Regions from separate parts of the Homo sapiens genome. Here regions 2, 3, 4, 5, 6 and 7 are each linked to region 1. Evidence: promoter capture Hi-C in 16 types of primary human blood cells and fetal thymus (Javierre and others, 2016). All regions are on one chromosome and are shown on one strand. The core of a region is centred on a gene start or on the middle of the fragment in contact, and the rest is flanking DNA. Distances in the headings are between cores, read along the strand shown. Region 1 holds the start of PTGER4 (prostaglandin E receptor 4). Region 2 has its middle 220 kb from the start of LINC02104. Region 3 has its middle 230 kb from the start of LINC02104. Region 4 has its middle 49 kb from the start of LINC00603. Region 5 has its middle 130 kb from the start of LINC00603. Region 6 has its middle 3.8 kb from the start of LINC00603. Region 7 has its middle 69 kb from the start of LINC00603.

Region 1 (3,846 bases), core at 772-3,271:
AAAGAAAATTCAAAGGACTAGTAAGAAAAATAGCTCAATTGATAACAAGTCTGGTTTGTCAATGACATGCTAATACCTGTAACAGTTACTAATTATCTCAGCAGTGTGTCTCAGTTTTTATATTTAATATATTCTTCATCATTCTTAAATTAATAAATAGCAACCAATTGTTTTCTCTTTTACAAGCTTCATATGGAAAGAAAATTGAAAAAAAAAATTTGTATTAGCAGAAAGTGAATATAAGGGACTTCCCAACCTCCCCTCCATATATTTACTGACAAGCAACTGACATGAGTGATAGCAAAGCAATGTGGTTAGTGAGGAATGGCGCAGAGTGTGCAGTTTCCTTTTTTCTAATGTTGATTTGTTTTCTGTGCTGACACAATCCTAGAGGTTACTGTTCAAAGGAAGCATCGACAACAGAAGTGATTAGAGTACTGATTAAAAGAAGATTTTTAAGAAAATGACCAATCACCATCAATCTTAATATTGGCTAACAAATGTGTATTTTTCTTTCTCATATTATTAAGTAAATAGTATAAACAGAATAATTCTTTATTAGTATATCCATATAGTGCCTTTTGCAAGTAAATATGATTCTGGATATTTTATGACCTGTAATTACTTGAAATCGGAAAGCCCTTTTAGTTTCTCTTATTACCCATGTGTTGCTGAGACTAACTGAAGAACCAGTTAGGAGGTTTGTTCGTTCACGAAATAACATTTAAGAAATGGGTACCTGCTTATCACATAAAAGAATCCAGTTATTTACTTACCCTGTGAGGAGACATAATATGTTAGAATGCTTGTACACTGCAGATGGGAAGAGGTTTTTCCAGGAATTTAAATTGTGCAATAAGGCCACACAATCTTACTTAAAAAAAATGGTGAAGGGGTTTTAATTACACCATGAAGTTTTACAATTTTTTAGGTTTTTAGTTCTGGTTTTAGAAAACAGAGTAGAAGGATTACAGAGAAAAACTTCACCATTAGACAAGAAGTCAAAATGATTCTAAGGGCCGCGCAAACAGGCTTTTCCAAGAATTAATCATGAGGTGGTGCTTGGAGAATTCCTTTACTCCAGTGACTTTGAAACCCCCTTCTCACTCTCCACTAGTCTTTCAAAGGATTCATGGTGAATTGGGTCTAACGAGTATAACACGGCCGGCCGAAGGCATGAAGCTCACGCTACCCTTTCAGGGCGGAGAAGTTCCCAGGAGGAAGAATGGAGAAAAAGATCGCAGTTAGGCAGTCCTCCCAACCTCACCAAGGCTCCACCTCTCTCCAAAGCCGCAAGGCTCTGCCACCTGCGCCGGGAGAGGCTGCAATCACTGTCTCCTCCTCTTTCTTTCTCTTTTTTTTTTTTCTTTTTTGCCTGGGGTGCCCGACCAAGCGCAGCCCGCAGTCTGGGCACTGCCAACTGACTCCAACTCCTTTTATGGTGAGAGGATGGATTCTTCGTTATTTCCCCGCCCAATCTGGTACCCACCCACCCACCCACCTACCACGTCCGCTGGGCGCACCCAAGTCTAACCCCGGGGCGCACGCGCTAGCGCAGACACCGTATTTCTTCTCCTTTCTCGGCCAACCCTAGGTAGAATCCTAAAACAACTGCCCTCTCTTCCACGATCTAGATGTTGCGGCCCGCGGACAGGAGGTTCAAGAAATAGTACACTCCGAGCGGCAGGCAGCGAGGCGGAAACGGTCGCCGGTTTCAGTGGTGGCCCCACTGGAAGCCGAGTTCAGGAGCGGCTAAGCGGTCGCCGGGGAAAGCACCGGGGCTTCCCAGGGTCCCCTCCGAGTTCCCACTCCGCACCTCCGAGGGCGTGAAAACCACGGGAGCCGCCCCACCCCGCGCGCCCAGCCCCGCCCCAGCCCAGACACCGCCCCCCGCCAGTCTTCCCTGCGGCGCCCAGGGAGGACGCGCTCCGCCCCCTTCCAATCCGGCCAATGGGCGCCCGGGCAGCGCGCGGTTTGCCTCCGCCTCCGCCAGGGAAACTTGGAGGAGGAGAAAAGTTTGTACAGAGGGTGGAAAGGCGAGAGCGGAGCTCCAAGCCCGGCAGCCCGAGAGGAAGATGAACAGCCCCAGGCCAGAGCCTCTGGCAGAGTGGACCCCGAGCCGCCCCCAGGTAGCCAGGAGCGGCCTCAGCGGCAGCCGCAAACTCCAGTAGCCGCCCGTGCTGCCCGTGGCTGGGGCGGAGGGCAGCCAGAGCTGGGGACCAAGGCTCCGCGCCACCTGCGCGCACAGCCTCACACCTGAACGCTGTCCTCCCGCAGACGAGACCGGCGGGCACTGCAAAGCTGGGACTCGTCTTTGAAGGAAAAAAAATAGCGAGTAAGAAATCCAGCACCATTCTTCACTGACCCATCCCGCTGCACCTCTTGTTTCCCAAGTTTTTGAAAGCTGGCAACTCTGACCTCGGTGTCCAAAAATCGACAGCCACTGAGACCGGCTTTGAGAAGCCGAAGATTTGGCAGTTTCCAGACTGAGCAGGACAAGGTGAAAGCAGGTTGGAGGCGGGTCCAGGACATCTGAGGGCTGACCCTGGGGGCTCGTGAGGCTGCCACCGCTGCTGCCGCTACAGGTGAGATGGCGTTGGGCTGACGTTGGGGTCAACGGGTAGAGAACGCAGGGATGCGGCCCTCGCCGAAGAGAGCCAAGAAGGGAAGAGCGCGCTCTCCAAATTGCTTTTGTAACTTGTTTTCAGTGAGCATTTTATTGATTCAGAATCTATCGAGAATAGCACTAGCGAGCTACTTTTCCCTTGAGATGGGTCTTATTCATCTTGGCAATGGAGTGAGTTGGATTGTGGGGAGGAAGAGGAATGGGAAAATCAGTTTATAAATATTAATGTCAGCAAGAGTGTGCTGTTGGCAGGACGTATCGCGAGCCTGGAGATTTTGGTGGCCGCAGTTGGTAAGTGGCTACAATCCAGAAAGTAGGATCGAGTTGCTCCCCTTGTCTTATCAGTGTATCGTTTCTCGGGCGCGGGTCTAACACCTTACAAGTGGTAATTTCCGCTCACGGCAGCTTTGTCTCTCTTCTACCATCCCCAGACCCAGCCTTGCACTCCAAGGCTGCGCACCGCCAGCCACTATCATGTCCACTCCCGGGGTCAATTCGTCCGCCTCCTTGAGCCCCGACCGGCTGAACAGCCCAGTGACCATCCCGGCGGTGATGTTCATCTTCGGGGTGGTGGGCAACCTGGTGGCCATCGTGGTGCTGTGCAAGTCGCGCAAGGAGCAGAAGGAGACGACCTTCTACACGCTGGTATGTGGGCTGGCTGTCACCGACCTGTTGGGCACTTTGTTGGTGAGCCCGGTGACCATCGCCACGTACATGAAGGGCCAATGGCCCGGGGGCCAGCCGCTGTGCGAGTACAGCACCTTCATTCTGCTCTTCTTCAGCCTGTCCGGCCTCAGCATCATCTGCGCCATGAGTGTCGAGCGCTACCTGGCCATCAACCATGCCTATTTCTACAGCCACTACGTGGACAAGCGATTGGCGGGCCTCACGCTCTTTGCAGTCTATGCGTCCAACGTGCTCTTTTGCGCGCTGCCCAACATGGGTCTCGGTAGCTCGCGGCTGCAGTACCCAGACACCTGGTGCTTCATCGACTGGACCACCAACGTGACGGCGCACGCCGCCTACTCCTACATGTACGCGGGCTTCAGCTCCTTCCTCATTCTCGCCACCGTCCTCTGCAACGTGCTTGTGTGCGGCGCGCTGCTCCGCATGCACCGCCAGTTCATGCGCCGCACCTCGCTGGGCACCGAGCAGCACCACGCGGCCGCGGCCGCCTCGGTTGCCTCCCGGGGCCACCCCGCTGCCTCCCCAGCCTTGCC
Region 2 (3,593 bases), core at 805-3,304, 940 kb before region 1:
ATGCTATACAAAGCACACACCATCACTTATGAGATTCACATCAAATATATTTAATTTGAATTTATCAAACCATAAGATATGAGATACATCTCACAGAAAATATGTCAGATCAATAAGCTTAACAATATTTCAAGAGGGTAAGCAATTCTAGATGAGGGATATTCTGCAAGACAATTTTCCTAGTTTCTGAGTAAGTCACAGTCGCAAAGAAGAGGATGTGCTTGACTTAAAAAAAAAGTACTTATAGTACATAACCATCAGCTGCCAAACATTGTCACATACAGTGGACAACAACCTTTGATTTTGAACAGGGTACATTGATCTTGTGCCCAATTTCTAATTGGGCTATTTGTTCTTTTATTTTCGAGTTTTAGGAGTTCTTTGAATATTTTGGATACAAGTCCTTTATTAGATATGTGTTTTGAGATTATTTTCCACTCTGAAGCTTATCATTAGATTATCTTAATAGTTTCTTTTGCAGAGCACAAGTTTTGAATTTTAATAAAGTTCAACTGATGAAAGTTTTTTTTTTTTTTTCAGGAACCCTGATTTTAGTACTGAAGAATGGTATTAGAATATGTATTATCAAACCCAAGTTCACATAAATTTTCTCTGATGTTTTCTTCCAGAATTTTTATAATGATGCATTTTACATTTATGTATATGATCTATGTTGAGTTATTTTTTGTAACATGTGAAATGACTTTGTCTATTTCATTTTTTTGCATACGGGTTCCCAATTTTTTCATCATTATTTATGGAAAAGACTAGCCTTTCTCTACTAAGTTGCCTTTCCTCCTTTGCCAGAGGTCAGTTAACTATGTCTGCGTGGGTGCATTTCTAGCCTCTCTCTTTCAGTTCCATTGATCTATGTGTCTATTTTGTCGCCAATTTCATGCTGTCTCGATTCCTGTAGTTTTATTATAGTAAATCTTGAAATCAGATAGTTTGAGCCCTCCAATTTTGTTCTTTTTCAGTGCTTGTGATTATTCTAGGTCTTTTGACCTTCCATATGAACTTTAGAGTCAATTTGTAGATGTCCATGTAATAGTTTGAGGACATTTTAATGAAAATTTCATTGAATCTATAGATTAAGTTGGGAAGAATTGACCTCATAACAATATTGACATACAACCATGAATAGAGTTTATCTCCCTATTTATTTACATCTTTGATTTCTTTCATTCGAGTTTTATAGATTTCCACATATATGTCTTGTACATTTCTTGTTAGATTTGTAACAAAGTATTTCATTTTTTGATCACTATTGTAAATGGTATTATGTTTCTAATTTTAAATTCCATTTGTTCATTGCTAGTGCATAGGAAAGCAAATATAACTTTTGTATATTAACCTTTTTTCTTGTGGCCTCACTATACTTGTTAACTAGTTCCAAGTAGTTTTTTGTACATTCTTTCTACATAAACAATCATGTTATTTGTGAAAAAAGACAGGTTTGTTTCTTCCTTTCCGATATGTATACATTGTATTTCCTTTTATTGTCTTATTGTGTTAGGCAGGACTTTCAGTACAATGTTTAAAAGGAGTGGTAAGACAGCCAGGTAGCTTGTATCTGTAGTCCCAGCTACACAGGAGGCTGAGGTAGATGGATTTCTTGCAGCCAGGAGTTCAAGAGCTGCCCGTGTCATATAGTGAGATCTCATCTCTCTCCTTCTCCTTTTTTTTTTTTTTTTTTTTTTTTTTTAAGGAGTAGTGAGATAGCATATCCCTGTCTTGTTTTCAATGTTAGGCAGACAACGTCCAATTTCCCACTACTTAGTATGATGTTAGTTATAGCAGAGGAATTTCTCCTCTACTCCCAGTTTTCTGAAATGTTTTATCATATATAGGTGTTGGATTTTGTCAAATGCTTTTTCCTGCACCAGTTGATATGATCATATGATTTTTCTTCTTTGGCTTGTCAAAGTGATGAATTACATTGATTTTTGAATGTTAAACCACCCTTATATACCTGGAATAACTCTTACTTGGTTATGGCACATAATTGTTTTTATACCTTGTTGGATTTGATCTGCTAATTTTTTTTTATTGAGGATATTTGCATTTATATTTGCTACATCTCATGTAGCAGATTATGGATCTCATTACAATATTACTTCTGCTTCGTTCTCTCTTTCTTATATTCCAATTACATGCATTCTATATATTATATTTTATTTTATTTAAAAGACTTTTTAAAGATGCGGTCTCACTATGTTGTCCAGGCTGGAGTGCAATCATAAATAATGCGGCCTCAATCTACTAGCATCTTACCATCCCACCTCAGCATCTCAAGTAGCTGGGACTGTAGACAGGGACCACCGTGCCCAGCTCATGGGTATCTTTAAAAAAATATATCCACAGCAATAGGATATTCCATTTAAAAAATACAAATATAACAAAAAACAGAAAAAAAAATCCTCTTTACATTTCAGTTTGGGATGTTTCCACTGACGTATCATCAAACTCACTGATCTTCCCTGGTCATGTCTAGTCTCCTAATGAGCCCATCAGAGGCATTCTTCATTTCCATTATATTGTTTTTATTTCTATGTCTTTTTGATTTCTTCTTACAGTTTCTATCTTTCTGCTTACATTAGCCATGTGCTCTTGCATGTTGTCTACTTTTTTTCTTTGGGGACTTTAACATATTAATTAGTTATTTTAAATTTGCTGATAATTTTAAAACCTATGTCATACCTTAGCATGGTCTTGATGCTTGTTTTATCTGCTCTAACTCTGATTTTTCTTTCTTTTTTTGGCACGTCATGATTTTGTTGAAAACTGAATGTGTGTGAGTAATATGGACTGCTGACTTTTCGTGTGAGAGTTTTTGTTAATGGGGCTAAGAGTTTGGGTATATTTAATATTTACTATAGCTGTCAGTGCCAGAGGCTTCAAATTCATCTGTTGCCTTTGTTTTGTCTTTCTTTTGAACTTTAATCTTCCCTAAGTATTCCTCCTTGCAGAGAGTTTGTGTCTTGCAGCTCTTCCAGCTGGAATCCACTATTATTATACTGGAGCCTGGTTGGTGTGGTGGTCAGTGAATGGGAGTGTTGTATAATCCTATCATCAAATCTCAGTATTTTTATGGATTTGTGTCATGGGCTTTGGCTTTCACAGGTATTTCTTCAGTGATGTAGATGTTCTCTCCCCTTAGATGAGAAAGGACATCTAGAGGTGCCGGAATGGGAGAAACACCTTCCCTTAACTACGATAAAGCTCTGGCAAATCTTTTCCCTTAGACCGACCTCTTTTATGGAGAATGCTCTGGACATAATTTCACAATGATTACTCTTCCTTTCTTGTTGCCACAGCCTAGAGAATATTTTTCTAGGAATTTTATTCTGAGATTCTGGTGAGGTATCTGGAGAAAAGTGTAGGAGACCCACGAAGACTACAGCCCTAGTGATTTCATACCCTAAGGTTAGTCCACAGCCAGCTTCTAGCAATTCACCAAAATTACCATGTAATGTTCTTAGCAGCTTAAGACTCCAGCAGCTTCTGCTCTAGGTAAGCAGATCTCTGCTATGACTATTCTCCTCTCTAGTTTTTAGGATGTTGGTTTGTCCTGCAACCTCAGTTCTCTGATG
Region 3 (3,601 bases), core at 665-3,164, 930 kb before region 1:
TTTTCCCCGTGCAAGCTTGAATTAAAAAACCAGTCTGAAATTAGATTTTGTTGCCAACATTAATCCCAAATTTTAGAAAAGTCAGAGCGTGTTTCTTCAAGTTGATTTATGCCAGCCTCAACTATGCCAAGGGAGAAAAAGTGGACCAAATTTTGTGCTTGAAATATATAATGTAAACTGACACTCTGAAGTACTTTTTTAATGTCACGAGAACTGCAAATGCATGTTTTTTGCTCTGAGGCAAAAAGAAAGGATTCAAAGACAATGATTCTTGATGGTTTCTTTTCCCTTATTGAGAAAACATCTGCCAGTTTTTACATACATTTCATCATAATGCACTATTTCCTCAAATATCCTTCATAGAAAATATCACTAACCATTATTATAAGATTATCACAATAGAAAGATAATTTCATAGATATGATGACAATAATAAAATATGAGTTAGGGCAAGGAAGTTTTAGACCACAATAAAAGAAATTGAAATCAACCTGAGTATGGCAAAATTATAAGGAGAGCATGGCAATGTGATTTAACAAGCGGCTAATTTAAGATGAGTCCCAGAAACAGAAGGAAAATGCATTAGATATTATGAAATAAGACAAAAACCAATGGGCTAACAATTTTAGAATCAAATGATTCTTTTCAAGGTTTTAAGATCATAGATAGAACACTCATGACTGTACAAAATGGAAGATCTGCAAATCACATACCATATATATTGCTTAAATATTTTTAACTTTATTTTTGATTATAATTTAAGACCTTTTTAGAAGGAAATCAATATATACTTTGGATTTTATAAGTGAAAATTTATAAAAGATTGTACAGTTGAATGGAAACTTCAAAGCAGTTCAGTCCAACCATCATTGATTCATTATTCGTGCGTTAAATATCCTGTCATTCCTTCAACAAGTATCTGATTAATTAACTGGGTACAGCAGTAAATGAAGAAAAGTGTCTTCGTGGAGCTTATATATTGGCAGGGAAACAAGGACAATAAATAAGTAAATATGTAAAATGGTGATAGGACTAAGCAGAAATAAAAGGTAAGGAGAGGTCATAAAAAGAATGGAGATAGTTGCTTTATTAAATAAGATGATCGAGGGAAGGTTTCACTGAGAAGGTGACATCTGAGTAAAGTCTGAAGAAGATGAGGAATGACATCTCCAGATACCTAGTCGGAGAGCTTTTCAGGAGCAGCAAATACAGTGGACTTGAGATATCTGGGCATTAAACATAAGTGTGCATGTGTCTTTATAGTAAAATGATTTATAATCCTTTGTGTATATACCTAGTAATGAGATTGCTGGGTCAAATGGTATTTCTGGTTCTAGGTCCTTGAGGAATCGCCACCCTGTCTTCCACAATGGTTGAACTAATTTACACTCCCACCAACAGTGTAAAAGCATTCCTATTTCTCCACATCCTCTCCAGCATCTGTTGTTTCCTGACTTTTTGATAAATGACATTTTAACTGGCATGAGATGGTATCTCATTGTGGTTTTGATTTGCATTTCTCTAATGACCAGTGACGATGAGCTTTTTTTCATTTATTGCAGCAGTATTCACAATGGCAAAGACTTGGAAGCAACTCAAATGCCCATCAATGATGGATTGGATAAAGAAAATGTGGCACATATACACCAGGGAATACTACACAGCCATGAAAAAGGATGAGTTCATGTCCTTTGCAGGGACATGGATGAAGCTGGAAACCATCATTCTCAGCAAACTAACACAAGAACAGAAAACCAAACACCACATGTTCTCACTCATAAGTGGGAATTGAAGAATGAGAACACATAGACACAGGGAGAGGAACATCACACACCAGGGCCTGTCATGCGGTGGGGGGCTGGGGGAGGGATAGCATTAAGAGACATACCAAATATAGATGATGGGTTGATGGGTGCAGCAAACCACCATGGCATGTGCATACCTATATAACAAACCTGCATGTTCTGCACATGTATCCCAGAACTTAAAGTATATATATATATATATATATATATATATATATATATATATATATATATATAGAGAGAGAGAGAGAGAGAGAGAGAGAGAGAGAGAGAGAGAGAGAGAGAGAGAGAGAGAAAGATATCCGGGCATTAGGCCAGGTACCAGCAGTATAGAGAATGCTGAAAGGCCCACTATATGTAGAAAAGTCATTAAAATGTGTCTTTCTTTATTGTACTGATGCAGGATTTCAGTAAGGGACACCCATTAGGTGTGTGCAGTCCCCAACAAATAGTTTTTGTGCACCTCTGTGTGTATAAACAATTTGATTAAAATATATTACCTTTTTATGGGTCGAAGTGTGAAGATTTAGAATGATGGATAGGTGGAACATACTTAGGTTCATTGTCTGTGATCATTCTGGCTGCAGATGGGCACCGATTTTTATATAGCCCCTGTGTTCCCAGCGCTGGTATGTAGACCCTTACTTGAGTCTCTTTCTACCATCCTGTTAATTTCATTACCCATTTTCTATGCCCCACTTCCTAATCATCATTCTCTAGCTCTTTGCAAGATTCTGTACAATTATCATCCAATTTTATTTGACAAACTAATGGTACTTGCAATAGAGACACCAGTTAGGAGACTATTACAATAATCCAGGGATAGCTGATGGTGATCAGTTGTGTCAAATGCTACTGATAAGTGGCATAATATGAATACTGAGAAGTGATAATTGGATCATCGATCCTCTGTAGTTGTTCATGCTGGCTAATGAGTGAATACTGCACAGAGTGGCAATTCCTTGCTAAATCACTCATTCCGTATTTCCGCAGGTCTGGCCAATGCCTTTGTGCTTAAGGGCACACAATGTCTGAAACATAATGTTTAACTACCAGATGTGTTCATGCACCGTTTAGTTTTTATCTTTTGATAGCACCATGTGAAACATATCAACATGGCAAATCTTCCTTTTTCACTGAGCCTGTTAGACTGATTCAATGGAGACCTTGGAGATTGGTTCAAATAAACCTTAAGTTATTGTTGCCTTCTTGCCAAGGGCTAGAAATGGAATTGATGATTTAGTCCGCAAGGTAAATTAAATAGGCAATGGAATTAGCAGAATGGTAGAAAGTGGCCCAACTAAGGATCTGGATACCAGGGGCTGTAAACAAGGGGACTATACAATAATCAGTAGCCCATCTATGGCCAGGGTGACCTCAACACTGAGCCACATATCTGATTCTGCAAGAAGTACCTACATGCCTTTTGCCTAGGACCATAGTTGATCTCAGAATGTGGAGCAATTCAAACTCATAAATAGAGGTAAATAAATACATTTGTCAGGCAGTTTCTGATGTCAGAACATGGTGCAGGAGGCAGTAGTTGTGGAATGACTGTAAGAATAGACTTAGAGCTAGTCCTTATTCCAGCAGATGTTTGTTTTACAAACAGAAGGCTATTACTTGGTTTACATGAAGTAATATATGTGAAATATTTTACTATATAAATTTTAAATATGATAAAGCTATCTCATGATAGTTCAGGGAGCTGTATCTTTCATTTCTGTCATATATTTTATGGCATTTTCAGCTTTACTGAAGATATTTCTGGGAAATAAGGTATAGGGCTCAAAATA
Region 4 (3,305 bases), core at 252-2,751, 680 kb before region 1:
TTGATTCACAACATATTTGAGTTTATCTACTACATTTTTTCTTTAGTATACAGAGGAGACTTTTAGTAATAATAACTTGTTTCAATTAACATAATAAAAACCAGACTTTATTTATTTAACAAATATCCATTGAATCTCATTACCTGTTACATAATGGTCTAAGTTCTGTAGAATTCACAGCAAAGAAAGTTGAGAGAGACTGTTTTCTGGTTAAACAAAATAAACAAAAAGAAAACCTTTTGAAGATTGCACAAAATCATAGCAAAGGCATTTGCCATATTTTATCCAGACCTGACATCACTTCGCTATATTCAGGGAGTCTAGGGAATTAGTATGTTTATGCCTGCAGCTAAAAATTGCCCATGTTCCTTAAAATTCATTCCTCTAGTAGCCACAAGTGGACAACTGGCAGTAATTATGGTATGAAAGACATATTTAATCACTGAAAAATGATAGATTTTAAACTTACTTTATACATAAACAGTGGAGATTGAGGTAGGGGCAAGAAAAATATAGGGTAAAGAACATTCAAAAGACTTACGAAATATTATTCTAAAATTTTCCATTTCCAAGAGTTGGTTTGGGTGGGAACAGGTGGCATTTGGTCACATGAATAAGTTCTTTAGTGGTGATTTTCAAGATTTTGCTGCATCCATCACCCAAGCAGCATACACTGTACCCAATGTATATTCTCTTATCCTTGAGTCCCCAAAGTTCACTGTATCATTTTTATGCCTTCACATCCTCATAGCTTAGCTCCAACCTAATGAATGAAAACGTACAATGTCTGGTTTTCCATTCCTGAGTTACTTCTCTTAGACTAATGGTCTCCAAATTCCATCCAAGTTGCTGCAAATGCCATTCTTTCATTCATTTTTATGTCTGAGCAGTATTTCATGGTATATACACACTGCATTTTCTTCATCCACTCATTGATGAATGGTCATTTGGTTCCATATTTTTGCAATTACAAATTGTGCTGCTATAAACATGCATGTGCAAGTATCTTTTTCGTATAATGATTTCTTTTCCTCTGGGTAGATAGCCAGGAGTGGGATTGCTGGATCAAAAGGTAGATCTACTTTTAGTTCTTTAAGGAATCTCCACAGTTTTCCATAGTGGTTGTACTAGTTTACATTCCCACTAATGGTTCCTTTGCATTAATACCCAGAAGTGGGGTTCCTGGATCATATGGTAGTTCTTTTTTAATTTTTTGAAGAATGTTCCTACTGCTTTCTGTAATATCTGGAAATATTCCTATCAAAAGGTATAATGGTTCTCTTTTCTCCACATTCTCACCAAAAATTCTTACCTCATTACTTTTTGAAAATAGCCATTCTAACAAGTGTAACATAATATCTCATTGTGGCTTTCATATGCATTTCTCATATTAGTGATGTTGAGCACCTTTTTATATACCTGCTGGCCATTTATATCTCTTCTTCATAAAATTTTTATTTAGGTCCTTTGCTCACTTTTAATCAGATGATTTGCCTTCTGCTGTTGAGTTACATGAGCTCCTTCTATATTTTGGATATTAACCAGGTATAGGATATATTAAATCTTTATAGGTTTGCAAATATTTTCTCACATTCCATAGGTTCCCTTCTTATTTTGTTGATTGTTTCCTTTCCTGTGCAGAAACTTTTTACTTTTGATGAAGTTTCCCGTGTTTATTTTTTATTTTGTTGCCTGTGCTTTTAGTGCCGTATCTAAAAAATCATTGCCAAGTTCAATATCATGGACTTTTCCCACATATTTTCTTCTAGGAGTTTTATAGAGTCAGATATAATGTTTTAATCTTTGATTCACAATGAGTTGATTTTTGCATGTCATGTAAGACTTGCATCCAATTTCATGATTTTTTTTTGCATGTGAATATCCAATTTTGCCAACATCATCATTTGTTCAATGATAGTGTTCAAAACACTATCATTTTCTGTTTGTGCATTCTTGGCACCTTGTTGAAGATTCACGGACTATATATAAAAACTCAAATATATATATATATATATATATATATAAAACTCATATATATATATATGAATTTATTTCTGGACATTTGATTTTGTTCCATTTGTCTTTCTGTTTGCTTTTATCTCAGTATCACATGTTTTGATTATTGTAGCTTTGTAATATAATTTTAAATCAGAAAGTTTGATACCTTCAGTTTTGTTCTTCTTGCTCAAGATTGCTTTAGCTATTTGGGTTCTTTGTGGGTCCATATGAATTTCAGAAGTTTTTTCTATTTCTATAAGAAATGCCATTTGTGTAGACATTTTGAAAATATTAATTTTTCCAAACCATGAACATGAGATATCTTTTCACTTATTTGCATTGTTTTTAATTTCAGTCACCAACGTATTATAGTTTCAAGGGTAGACATCTTTTACCTCCTTGGTTAAATGAAATCCTGTGTGTTTTATTCACATTGATGCTATTGTAAACAAGCTGGTTTTCTTAATTTCTTTTCTGGATGTTTTGTTATTTGTGTAGATAAATACAATTGGTTTTTGTATGTTGATTTAGCATCCTGAAACTTTACTGAATTTACTTATTAGTTCTACCAGGTTTTTCAGGACAGGGGAGAGGGAGTCTTTAGGGTTTTCTATAGACAAGATTATGTCATCTGCAAACAGATAATTTTACTTCTTTTCTTATATGGATGCTTTTATTTTTGACTAATTGCTCTATCTAAGGTTTCTAGTACCATGTTGAATAGAAGTTGCTAAAGTGGGCATCCTTGTCTAGTTTCTGATATCAGAGGAAAACCTTTGCTTTCATTTGAGTATGATGTTAGCTATAGGCTTCCCATATATAGCCTTTATTATAATGAGGTATGTTCCCTGTATACTTAATTTGTTGAAAATGAATTTTTATCATTAAAGGATGGTAAATTTTACCAAATGCCTTTTCTGTATCTATTGACATGATCATATGATTTTAGTCCTTCATTCTGTTTATGCAATGTATCATCTTTATTAATTTATGTATGTTGAACCACCCTTATAACCCAGGAATAAATCTCACTGGATGGTGGAGAATGATCTTTTTTAATGTGCTGTTAAATATGGCTTGTTAGTATTCGGTTGAGGATTTTTGCACCTATATGAATAACAGCTGTAATTTTTTTTTTCTTATAGTATTTTTGTCTGGCTTTTGTATCAGCATAGTGCTGGCCTTATAAAATGAGTTCGGAAGTGTTACCTCCTCTTTAATTTTTGTGAATTTAAGAAGGATTGATATTAATTTTTTTTTTTTTTTTTTTGAGTTGGAGTCTGGCTCTGTCACCCAGGCTGGAGTAC
Region 5 (3,572 bases), core at 1,048-3,547, 760 kb before region 1:
TGATATTTTATTCATATTATTTTATGTCTCTGTATTTTCTGCTCATGTAAAATTAATGGTCTTCTGCTCATGTAAAATTAATGATTTTAACTGCAGAATGGATGTTGTGTTAGCAGACATGAAAACAACACTAATCTCCTTGTACATCTCCATCAGAGCTCTTGGGGTGATCAGGTGCATTGTCATTGAGCAGTAATATTTTGAAAGAAATCTTATTTTCTGAGCAGTAGTTCTCAAGTAGTCTTAAAATATTCAGCAAACCATGCTGTAAACAATTGTACTGTTATATAGGCTTTGTGGTTCCATTTACAGAACATAGGTAGAGTAGATTTAGCATAATTCTTAAGGACTCAAGAGATTTTCAGCGTGATAAATTAGCACTGGGTTCCACTTGAAGTCACCAGCTGCAGTAGACGCTAATTATAAAGGCAATTCGCCCTTTGAAACTTTGAAGACAGGAACTGTCTTCTCTTCTCTAGTTAGGAAAGTCCTCGATGGCATCCTCTTTCAATAGAAGGCTATTTTGCCTACGTGGAAAATCTGTTGTTGAGTTGTAGCCAACTTCATCAAAGATCCCAGCTAGATCTTCTGGATCACTTACTGCAGATTTTTCATCAGCACTTGCTGCTTCATCTTGCACTTGTGTGTTACAGAGATGGCTTATGTCCTTAAACCTCACAAACCAACCTCTGCTAGCTTCAAATCCTTCTTCTGCAGCTTCCTCACCTTTCTCAGCCTTCATAGAATTGAAGAGTTAGAGTCTTCCTCTGAATGAGGCTTTTGCTTAATGAAATGTTGTGCCTTATTTGATGTATACAGACCACTCAAACTTTCTCCATGTAAACAATAAGCCTGTTTTGCTTTCTTATCATTTGTATTTACTGGAGTAACACTTTTAATTCCCTTCAAGAACTTTTTATTTGTATTCGCAACTTGGCTAACTGTCTGTTGCAAAAGGCCTAGCTTTCAGCCTATCTCAGCTTTTGACGTGCCTTCCTCATTAAGCTTAATCACCTCCAGCTTTTGATTCAAAGTGAGAGACATGTTACTCTTTCTTTCACTCGAATACTTAGAGGTCATTGTAGGGTTGTTAATTGACCTAACTTCTATATTGTTGTGTCTCAGGAAATAGGGAGGCCCAAGGAGAGGGAGACAGATGGGGTAATGGCTGGTTGGTCGATGGAGCAGTTTGGAACATACACATTTATTTGTGGTATTGAGTGTGGTTTGTAGCACCCCAGAACAAATACAATATGGTACTAACATCAGAGATCACTGATTACAGATCACCATCAGAGTTATAATAATAATGAAGTGTCTGAAATATAGCCGAATTACCAAAATGCGACACAGAGACACAAACTAAGCACATGTTTTTGCAATAATGGCACTGATAGACTTGCTTAATACAGGGTTGCCACAAAGCTTTAATTTGTAAAAAAACACAATCTCTGTGAAGCACAATAAAGTAAAGCACAATAAAACGAAGTACACTTGCATATCTTGCATATTTAAACAGAGTTTTCTTTTCAGTTCAAGATTATATCATTGGTCAAATAAGTTTGAAGATTGAGGTAAATGATGGTGTCTACGTAAGTTTGAACAATTTCTATATGTTGCCACATTACTTAAAATCAAGTTAATTGACCTAATTTCAATATTGTTGAGTCTCAGGGAATAGGTAGGCCTACATTACTTAAAGTTTACTAAACCAGGCAAATTTTCACCCCTAAATTCTGAAGATTTTGATTTTATGAAACTATACTATTGAAATTCAAATTCAAGTGCAAGTAAAAATCTCTTAGCCTTTCAAAGTGTCCCTAGTTACATCTCTCCAATATCAAAATATAAATTAGTTCAAATCACTTCTTCCACTAACCATAAATTTTTATTTCACAGACCAAGTATTTAATCACTTAAACAATTTTATAATTAGCAACGTGTTAGTACTATAATAAGTAAAACCTCTTCTTAGTTCTAAAATTTAATATGTTAGTGATTCTAATGAACTAATCTATAAGCCAATCTATGAATTTATCTTAGAAATCAGTGTCCCTAAGGCACATATTATATAGTGGAGTACATAAAACCAATACAAATTAGAAATTTAAATAATTATAAGCAGTAATATTTAATAAAATGTTAAATGTGATCAAATCAACTGGTAGATTATAAACAATAGTTTACAAATTTTGTGTAGACAATATTTTTGTTGACTATATATTAAGCTGTCTTCATATTTTAACTCATTGAATTCTTATAATTATCTAATAACAAAGGTAGTGTCATTATTTTTCTGTTGCTCAATGAGCAAGATTAAGTTCTGCAAGTGCAATTGACTTTCCCAAGGCGGTTTAGCTAATAAAGTGCAGACGGTTGTAAAACATCAAAGCATATGTGGGGTGTGTGTGTGTGTCTGTGTGTGTGTGTGTGTATTTTGTATATGTTGATATATATGAGTGGTGGGGAAACAATCACAAGCAGATGAAACATAAAATATTGCATGCAGGTGACAATGACCATCTCTTCTTTTCATTAAATACCACTCTTACAATTCCAAAGAGCGTCCTTTGAAGTTCTTAAATATATCTTCTCAACTGACATTAACTTCACAATTTGACACTAGAAAACTGAGTTAGAGATACATTTAGGGGCTGCCAATTTGAAAGAAGAGGGCCAGAGGGGTGAAGGGAGTAAAATAAAAGTTGAAGAACAATCTTTAAGACCAGCTGAGATTAAAAAGAAGAAACAACCTTTCTTCTTCACATTAATAGCATTTTTAATTCCAGTGTCAGACATGTATTAAACACCTCTCTGACATTAATGTAAGATCAGTGGCTAATATGATGAGATATATAAAAGCCATATTGAATAAAATTAAAAAGTTTATAATTCTTGGCCATGCAGGACTGTAAAATCAGAGGTTGATATTAAAGGTTACTCTTGCAACCTTTAATAAAGAAGTCATAATCATTTTTCTAGATAAGGACAATGTTAAAAGTTATCCAGTTTGCCAAAATTAGGAAACTGGATAACTTCAGAGTGACTTTCTGCTATGTCCACATAACATCATTTAGTGTTTTCAACTGTTTTCCTCATTGAAGAAATGTTATATGCAGACTGAAATATAGTTCCTGATTTTGGTTTTGCTTAAAATTCATGAATCTCTACAAGCTTTCTTGAAATATCGTACAAAGCTTGTTTGGGAAGGAAAATGATGCCATGGAAAGTTGAGGAAGAAACTAATTTATGTTTAACCTTTATACAGGGCCACCACATTGCATCATTCTAGGAGCTGCCATTGACATTGTCTTCTTTGCATGCCCCAAGGAGTGTTCATCCCCATAATAGAAAATGATAAGGCAAGTTACTTAACCTCTCTTTTAATTTGCTGTTATTTGTATCTTTCAGGGTTGCTTGAGAAGTAAATTAAAGAAGATAAAAAATAACATAGTGCGCAATGCACAGAATGCGTCCCAAAACACTAGTTTTTTTCCTCTCTAATCATTCTTACAGAATGCCTGATGAAATCTTGTTACTTCTGCCACCAGATGTAACTGAAATAGCTTGGA
Region 6 (3,385 bases), core at 69-2,568, 620 kb before region 1:
GAATTGCTCTTGGAATTGAAATGAAAAAGCATATGTGGTCAATTAGCATAAATTTTGGGATAATTTTTTTCACCAGATCACCTAATTGCTATACTCTACTGTTTAGTGAGCTTGATTAAAAGACAGTGGAGTGAGCACAAGTTTTAGTCGGGTTATGTTGTAAAAATTTTTTTTTTAAAAGAAACTGACACCTACCTTGAGGGTTAACGTGAATTGTATTAGTTTCTTACGGCAGAGGTAACAAACTAATGCAAACTGGGTTGTTTACAGAAATAAAAATTTATTCTCACATAGTTCTAGAGGCCAGAGCCTGAAATCAAGGTGTCAGCAGAGTTGGTGCCTTCTGGAGGTTCTGGGAGAGAAATCATCCCATGCCTCTCTCCTGGCTTCTGGTGGCGGTTGGCAACCCTTGGCTCACAGGTCACCACTATACTGTCTACCTCCGTCATCATGTGGCATTCATCCTAGGCATGTCTCTGTATCTTTGTTTGCTCTTCATATAAGGACACCAGTTATTGTATTAGGACCCACCTTAATCCAATATATCCTCATCTTAACCTAATTACATCTGCAAAGATCCCATTTTCAAATAAGGTCACAGGGTGAAGTTCCAGGTAGACATCATTCGGGAGACACAGTATTCAACCCAGCATATGAATATTAGTGAGAAGGAATATAAAGCACCTAGCAAAATGTCTGGCACACAATTAGGCTTTAATAACTAGTAATTATTGGTACCTGTGGCTTACTAAATTGGCTACTCTGCACTGAGTAATGCTAGAGTGCTGAGTGTGTAGTGAAGGTCAGAGCAATTTACAACCATGTCAGTATATCTTTCTCACTGTTTTTCTCCTAACCCCAGACAATTTAAGTTCAGTGCCCAAGGCAAGTAAATTTAAACCTGAAATCAATCAGTTTGCTCTGGTTTCTTGTAAGCCACGTTAGTACTCCTGAAATATAAGCAGGGAATTAACAGAGCCCTCTAATGCCTTGAATTAAATTTTGAGCCAAACTTCACTGCGTGCTAAAAATAGATTGCCTCATTGTTCACTAGTAAAGGGAGGATCCCTAACTGCTTCAAATTAAGTTGTGAGCTTTTTGTTTGTTTTAATTGCATACTTTTCTCTGTTCAGTCTTTGTGGAGTCCATGGCTGCTACTTCTCTACTGTTTATATAAATTTTATCTTGGTGCTAAAGTGAAAATTGTAGTATTTCTTAGATATAGGGCTTTGTAAGGAAAGAAAAATTACACCTGTTTTCCCAAGAGTTAATTGTGATTATGCTGGGAAACAGGAAACTGAACTGGAAGAATCTAGAGAATCCCTCTAGCAAGGATCTTCTGTTTCTCCTCTTGGACTTGCTGCCATTATCTTTCCCAAGCCAATTTCCAGTTGTTCCTCAATTATTTCAAATCAGCCACTACTTCTTCAAACTTTAAAATCTCATTACTGGATATTTCAGTTCAAAACTCCAGGCTACACTATTTTAGTGCCCAAGCTAAATACTATTTAGCTTGAAAGAAAAAAAGAATATTCTGCCATATGTGACAATATAGATGAACCTCAAGGACATTATGCTATATAAGAGGACATTAAGTTACATAGGCCTTATTGTTTTCAATTTTTTCAAAATGTATATACTTTACAATAAACAGATAATTAAATTTTTTTCTCACTACTTCCTTACCTTGATATCAGATTTTTGCTATGTGTTTTTTGAGGTCAGGTGGTGACTACAAAGATACATTTTTTTTCTAATTACACTATTCTGTCTGTGAATCAAGCCAAACTACTAGAAAAAAACTGCATACCTGAATCATGTTTTACAATCCTGTACTTTTTTTTTTTTACTTTTTCTTTTTTTTTTCTAAATTATTATACAACTTGGTGTCTCTAATACACTTTGAGGAACATTGTAAGAAATAGCTTCGTAGAGCACACTTCTGTATTTACCAAAATAATGTTGTGGAAAACATGGTTTAACACATGGCACCATATTTTCTCTCTGAGGACAAAAAACAAAAATGGTTCTCCAGAATCAACATTGAGGAATGTTTTACTCTTCTAAGCAATTGCTTTTGTTTTATTGTTTAGACCCTTTGAGATGGTTAATCAACCATAATTCTGTATTTTTGTGGTCTGCCAGAAACCTTAATGATGTATCTCTGTTTCCTATCACTAGAAAAGAGCAGCATAGTGGTGTGCTAATCACGCTAGTGGTTTTATCTTATTTTTCTCACCTTCATTCCCCCATTCCTCTGTTATGGTTTGCATGTTTCCAAATCTCATGTTAAAATATATCCCCAGTGTTGGAGATGGGGCTTAATGAGAGGTGTTTGGGTCACAGAGGCAGTTTCCTTATGAATAAATTAATATCCTCCCTTAGCGGTGAGAGAGTTCTTGCTCTATTGGTTCCCAAAGGAGCTGGTTGTTTGAACAAACCTGGTGCCTCCCTCTCTCTCTTTCTTCCTCTCTTGCCATGTGGTCTTTATGCAAACCAGTTCCCCTTTGCTTTCTGCCAGAAGTAGAAGGAGCCTGAGGCCCTCACCATATGCAGTACCCCAAACTTGAACTTTCCAATCATGGGAATTATGAGCCAAATAACTTTTTTTCTTTATAAATTAGTGAGCCACAGGAATTCATTTGTAGCAACATTAAATGAACTAATACCCCTTTTTTATGTTATTGGTGTGCATCTTGCTACCTGCCTTAAGTCTTTTTAACAAGGCAAAGTAAAAGGAAAAATATTTAAATTAATAAAATTTAGTTTACACATGGTCTTGATTAAAGAAAACTGGTTGGATTAGACCTAGTTAAATTTAAATTATCTGTGGTTTCTAAGATGGCCATTAAGAAGAGAGTTCAGTTTTTCACATTTCTAACCTACTTGTGAGATTCTTTAGAGTGTAGTATAGACATCTTATAATTCGAAAGTAGTAATGAGACTGAAAAATAGAAATTGTTGTTATTAAAATGTTACTGAGACCTAATTTTACAAAGGCCTTGTAGGCATTCTGTAGGTAAAATTGCATAGACCCACCATCTTCCCCTGGGAATCTAGAATCACAAATAAAAGGTTTACTACATTCAAATCAAGCAGCTTTGGATCCAAAAAGATTCAAACTAAGAAGTGTTTGTACCATTCTAAGAAGTGAAGGATATATTCAGTTGTGGTTGAAAGAAGGTGCTGTAAAACACATTCAAAAAAGAGCTTGTGCCTCTTTGAGGTAAACGAATGACAGTTCCCAGGAGCCACCAGGGTTTAAACAACTTCTGAGTTATTTCAAATAACATAAGACAAACATTCCAGGAATGACGTTATAAAACATTTTTCTATTTGCCCTATTAATTTCTTCAGATACCAGTTCACTAGGAGAAAGTAAAAA
Region 7 (3,825 bases), core at 700-3,199, 700 kb before region 1:
CCTACAGGTGCTCAGAATACAAGAGTGAAGGAGACTTGACAGCCTTCACCTAAATTTCAGATGTTGTATGATGTATTTCAGAAGCCTGCTGCAGGGTGGAGCCCCCACAGACAGCCTATACTAGAGAAATGCTGAGGGCAATTGTGGGGTTGGAGCCTACACAAAGAATCCCTGCTAGAGCACTACCTACTTGAGCTGTGGGAATAGGACTGCCACCCTCCAGACACTAGAATATTAGAGCCACCAGCAGCTTGCATCCTGAGCCTGAAAAAGCCATAGGCACTCAATTCCAACCTGTGAAAGCAGCCATGGTGACCTTACAAAGTCACAGAGGCAGAGCTGCCCAATGCTTTGGGAGCCCGTCCCTGGCACTAGTGTGCCCTGGATGCTAGACATGAAGTTTTAAAATATTATTTTGTAGCTTTAAGATTTAATCGCTGCCCTGCTGGTTTTCAGACTTGCAAAGGGCCTGTAACCCCTTCATTTTGGCTGATTTCTCCCTTTTGGAATAGGAATTTTTACCCAGTTCCTATACCACCATTGTATCTTGGAAGTAAATAACTCATTGTTGATTTTATAGGCTCATAGGCAGAAGGAGATGAGTCTCAGATGATATTTTAGGCTTTGGACTTTTGATTGATTTGATGCTGGAATGAATTAAGACTTTGGGGGACTATTGGGAAGGGATGATTGTATTTTGTAGTGTGAGAAGGACATGAGGTTTAACGGGCCAGGGTTGAAATGATATAGTTTGCATGTTTTCCTTCTTCAAATCTCATGTTGAAATGTGATCCCCAGTGTTGGAAGTGGGGCCTGATTGGGGGGCGTTTGGATCATGGATGTGGATTCCTCATGAATGGCCTAGCATCATCCCCTTGGCGATAAGTGACTTCTCGCTCTGGTAGTTCACATGAGATCAAGTTGTTTGAAACAGCATGAAACCTACCCCCCATTCTTGCTCTCTCTCTTGCCATATCATGTGCTGGCTCCCCCTTCACCTTCTGCCACAATTATAATCTTCCTGAGACCCTCACTGGAAGCAGATACCAGCACTATGCTTCATGTAGAGCCTGCAGAGCCATGAGGCAAAAGAAAAATTATTTTATTTATGAATTACCCAATTTCAGGTATTTCTTTACAGTAATGCGAAAAACAGCCTGATACAAAATATGTATGGAAAATATAGTGGAGAAAAATCAATGGAATTCAATGCTATCTAGATATAGCATTAAAAAGAAAATATAAGGTAGATTGGACTAGGCATGTGTGTGTTGAATGGAATAAGGAAATCTGCTGTAGAGAGAATAGGCTAGAAAAAAAAGAGGGTTCAGGCTAAAAACAAAACTATGTTTTTCGATAGAATAAGTAAGTTATGTTGCAAGTGACTTTTCATAGCTTGTTTTTTATTTTCTTCAAAAACAAACCATGATTGTATTAGGTTTTACTCGATTTGCTCTTAGCCTATTTAGATTTCTGCTGGTTTATTGGTTTAGTCAATGAGCCTATAAGTAATGGTTAATTTTAGTGATAAACAGCATGTTTGATTTAGGAGAACAAAGGCCAAACAGCTAAATAGAGTTCTTTTGATTCACTGATGAGAGGGGAAACATACTATCTTGGTTCTTTCCATGGAAAAGAAATGATTTGTGTTCATTTAGATCCAAGGGGAGAGGAAGTGCAAGTGTTTTAAATTGCCAAGATAAAATTATTCTGAACTTGGATAAAACCCAATGAAAAACTGAACAAGAAAAGGGTAATGGAGGAGTGTTTTGGGGCCATGCCAGGATGTTAAAAATGCAGGGACATTCAGATTACATGGTACAAAAGTTTATCTATGGAGATCTCTCCGTTTTTGTGCTCTAGTTAATAATTTAGAAGAGTGAGTCTCAGTCACGTTTCAGATTCCTTGAAGATCATTGGGCAAAAAAGGTCAATTGCATTTCCACTCAGAAAAACCACTGCTGACTTAGAAAGTAAAATGACTGTAACTATTCTTCAGGAAAACTTATGTAGCAGGACACGCATTTAGGTATTGTAAGCATAAAGAAAAGAGAGGCCTGATTTGAGAGACCATTTCTTTAGTCTGACTATTAATGATTAGACCTAAATATTCTGATGGTCTTGCACGTTCATTTTCAAAATCATTTCTTCTGTCTTTTGATAGAAAATTCAGAATCTCCAAGTAAAGTAGATATGCAGGTTACTTGATGTCAAATGCCACTTCAATTTTCTGGGCCTTCACACTTTTCATTCTCATTCTGTTATATTATACAGTTGACCCCTGAGAAACATGGATTTGAACTTCACTAGTCCAATTATAGGTACATTTTTTGGTAAATATATTGAAAAGTTTTCTGAAGATTTGTGACAATTTACAGAAATTTGCAGATGAACCATGTAGCCTAGAAATACTGGAAAAAATAAGAAAAAGTTAGGTGTGTCATGAATGCATAAAATATATGTAGATACTAGTCTATTTTATTATTTACTACCATAAAATATACACAAATCTTTTATAAAAACTTAAAACTTACCAAAACACACATAAACACTTACAGGCCACATATGGTACCATTGCACTCTAGAGAAATTTAAACAAATGCAAAGATGCAGTATTAAATCATAACTGCCTAAAATTAACTATAGTATATACTGTACTACTGTAATAATTTTTTATTCACCTCTTGTTGCTATTGCAGTGATCTCAAGAGTTGCAAGTATTTGCTTAAAACACTGTGTGGCACCAGTCATCTCCTTGCGAGCAGTTTGTCTCTCCAGTAAATTGCATATTGCAGCAAAAGTGATCTCTCTCAGTTCTTGTATATTTTTATTGTGTTTAGTATAACACCCTTAAACCTTGAGTAACATTATGGTACCCATATGAAGTGCCACTAGTGATGCTGAAAATGCTCCCAAGAAGCAAAGTAGTGACATAAAAAACAGTTTAACTGTTTGATGTGTACCATAGATTGACATCTGTAGCAGTGGATGCCCACCATTTCAAGATAAATAAATCCAGCATAAGAACCATTATTTAAAAAGAAAAGAACATTTGTGAAACTTTCACTGCAGCTACACCAGCAGGCATGAAACCTTGCAGTTTTTGTAAAATACAGTTTCCTTTAATTTCATATTGAAAACACAGCTTTTATGTGGGTGCAGAATTGCTGTAGGAAAAGCATACCCACAGACTCTAATACAATTTAAGAAAAAGTGAAGTCATTATATAACAACTCAAGGCAAAAACAATGTGAAGGATCTAAAGCTGGAGAATTTAATACTAGCAAAGGATGGTCTGATAATTTTAGAAAGAGATGTGGTTTTAAAATGTCAACATAGGAGGAGAAGCACCTTCTGCTAACCAAGAGACAGCAGATGAGTTCTCAGATGCCATTAGGAAAATAATTGAGGAGAAAGATTATCTGCCTCAACAGGTTTTTATTACACACAAAAGTACCCTATTCTGGGAAAAAAAAAAAAAAACACAACAAACTTCCACAAAGGACATTTATTAAGATAAGAATTGAACAACAGGATTTAAGGCAGAAAGGGATAGGCTAACTATACTGTCTTGTGCAAATGCAGTTGTGTTTATGACCAGGACTGCCCTTATCTATAATGCTGCCAAACCCTGAGCTTCAAAAGGAAAAGATAAACACCAACATCCAGTCTTTTAGTTTTCAAAAAAAAAAAAAAAAAAAAGCCTGGAAAATAAGAATCCTTTTCTGGATTGGTTCCATCAATGCTTTGTCCCTGAAGTCAGGAACTACCTTGCCTGTAAGGAACTGCTTTTTACTGGACAATGCCCCCAGCTACCAAAAACTC

Evidence for each region. The method cuts DNA at HindIII sites, captures the fragments that hold promoters and counts their contacts. A CHiCAGO score of 5 or more calls a contact.
Region 2: a contact is called between a fragment that was not itself captured here and the fragment with the promoter of PTGER4 in region 1, in 1 of 17 cell types (neutrophils). The highest score is 5.3, in neutrophils.
Region 3: a contact is called between a fragment that was not itself captured here and the fragment with the promoter of PTGER4 in region 1, in 1 of 17 cell types (neutrophils). The highest score is 5.3, in neutrophils.
Region 4: a contact is called between a fragment that was not itself captured here and the fragment with the promoter of PTGER4 in region 1, in 3 of 17 cell types (naive B cells, neutrophils and total B cells). The highest score is 8.8, in naive B cells.
Region 5: a fragment that was not itself captured here is called in contact with the fragment with the promoter of PTGER4 in region 1 in 2 of 17 cell types (neutrophils and total B cells); the score reaches 5.9 in neutrophils.
Region 6: a fragment that was not itself captured here is called in contact with the fragment with the promoter of PTGER4 in region 1 in 1 of 17 cell types (naive B cells); the score reaches 5.8 in naive B cells.
Region 7: a fragment that was not itself captured here is called in contact with the fragment with the promoter of PTGER4 in region 1 in 2 of 17 cell types (naive B cells and total B cells); the score reaches 5.9 in naive B cells.

The regions. Positions count from the first base shown.
Region 1 is chr5:40,677,894-40,681,739 of GRCh38, forward strand. PTGER4 (prostaglandin E receptor 4) reads left to right here and starts at 2,022. Exons shown (of 3, transcript NM_000958.3): 1 at 2,022-2,585; 2 at 3,058-3,846. The coding sequence starts at 3,101. RefSeq lists a silencer at 1,685-1,904 and an enhancer at 3,040-3,567. The HindIII fragment of the contact is 6,362 bases long and covers 185-3,846 here.
Region 2 is chr5:39,734,345-39,737,937 of GRCh38, forward strand. No RefSeq gene overlaps it. Among named protein-coding and RNA genes, the nearest start is that of LINC02104, 220 kb to the left of the region's middle. The HindIII fragment of the contact is 3,223 bases long and covers 444-3,593 here.
Region 3 is chr5:39,752,335-39,755,935 of GRCh38, forward strand. No RefSeq gene overlaps it. Among named protein-coding and RNA genes, the nearest start is that of LINC02104, 230 kb to the left of the region's middle. The HindIII fragment of the contact is 3,803 bases long and covers 14-3,601 here.
Region 4 is chr5:40,001,699-40,005,003 of GRCh38, forward strand. No RefSeq gene overlaps it. Among named protein-coding and RNA genes, the nearest start is that of LINC00603, 49 kb to the right of the region's middle. The HindIII fragment of the contact is 9,445 bases long and covers 1-3,305 here.
Region 5 is chr5:39,921,897-39,925,468 of GRCh38, forward strand. No RefSeq gene overlaps it. Among named protein-coding and RNA genes, the nearest start is that of LINC00603, 130 kb to the right of the region's middle. The HindIII fragment of the contact is 1,749 bases long and covers 1,424-3,172 here.
Region 6 is chr5:40,054,416-40,057,800 of GRCh38, forward strand. No RefSeq gene overlaps it. Among named protein-coding and RNA genes, the nearest start is that of LINC00603, 3.8 kb to the left of the region's middle. The HindIII fragment of the contact is 4,203 bases long and covers 1-3,385 here.
Region 7 is chr5:39,981,292-39,985,116 of GRCh38, forward strand. No RefSeq gene overlaps it. Among named protein-coding and RNA genes, the nearest start is that of LINC00603, 69 kb to the right of the region's middle. The HindIII fragment of the contact is 5,583 bases long and covers 1-3,825 here.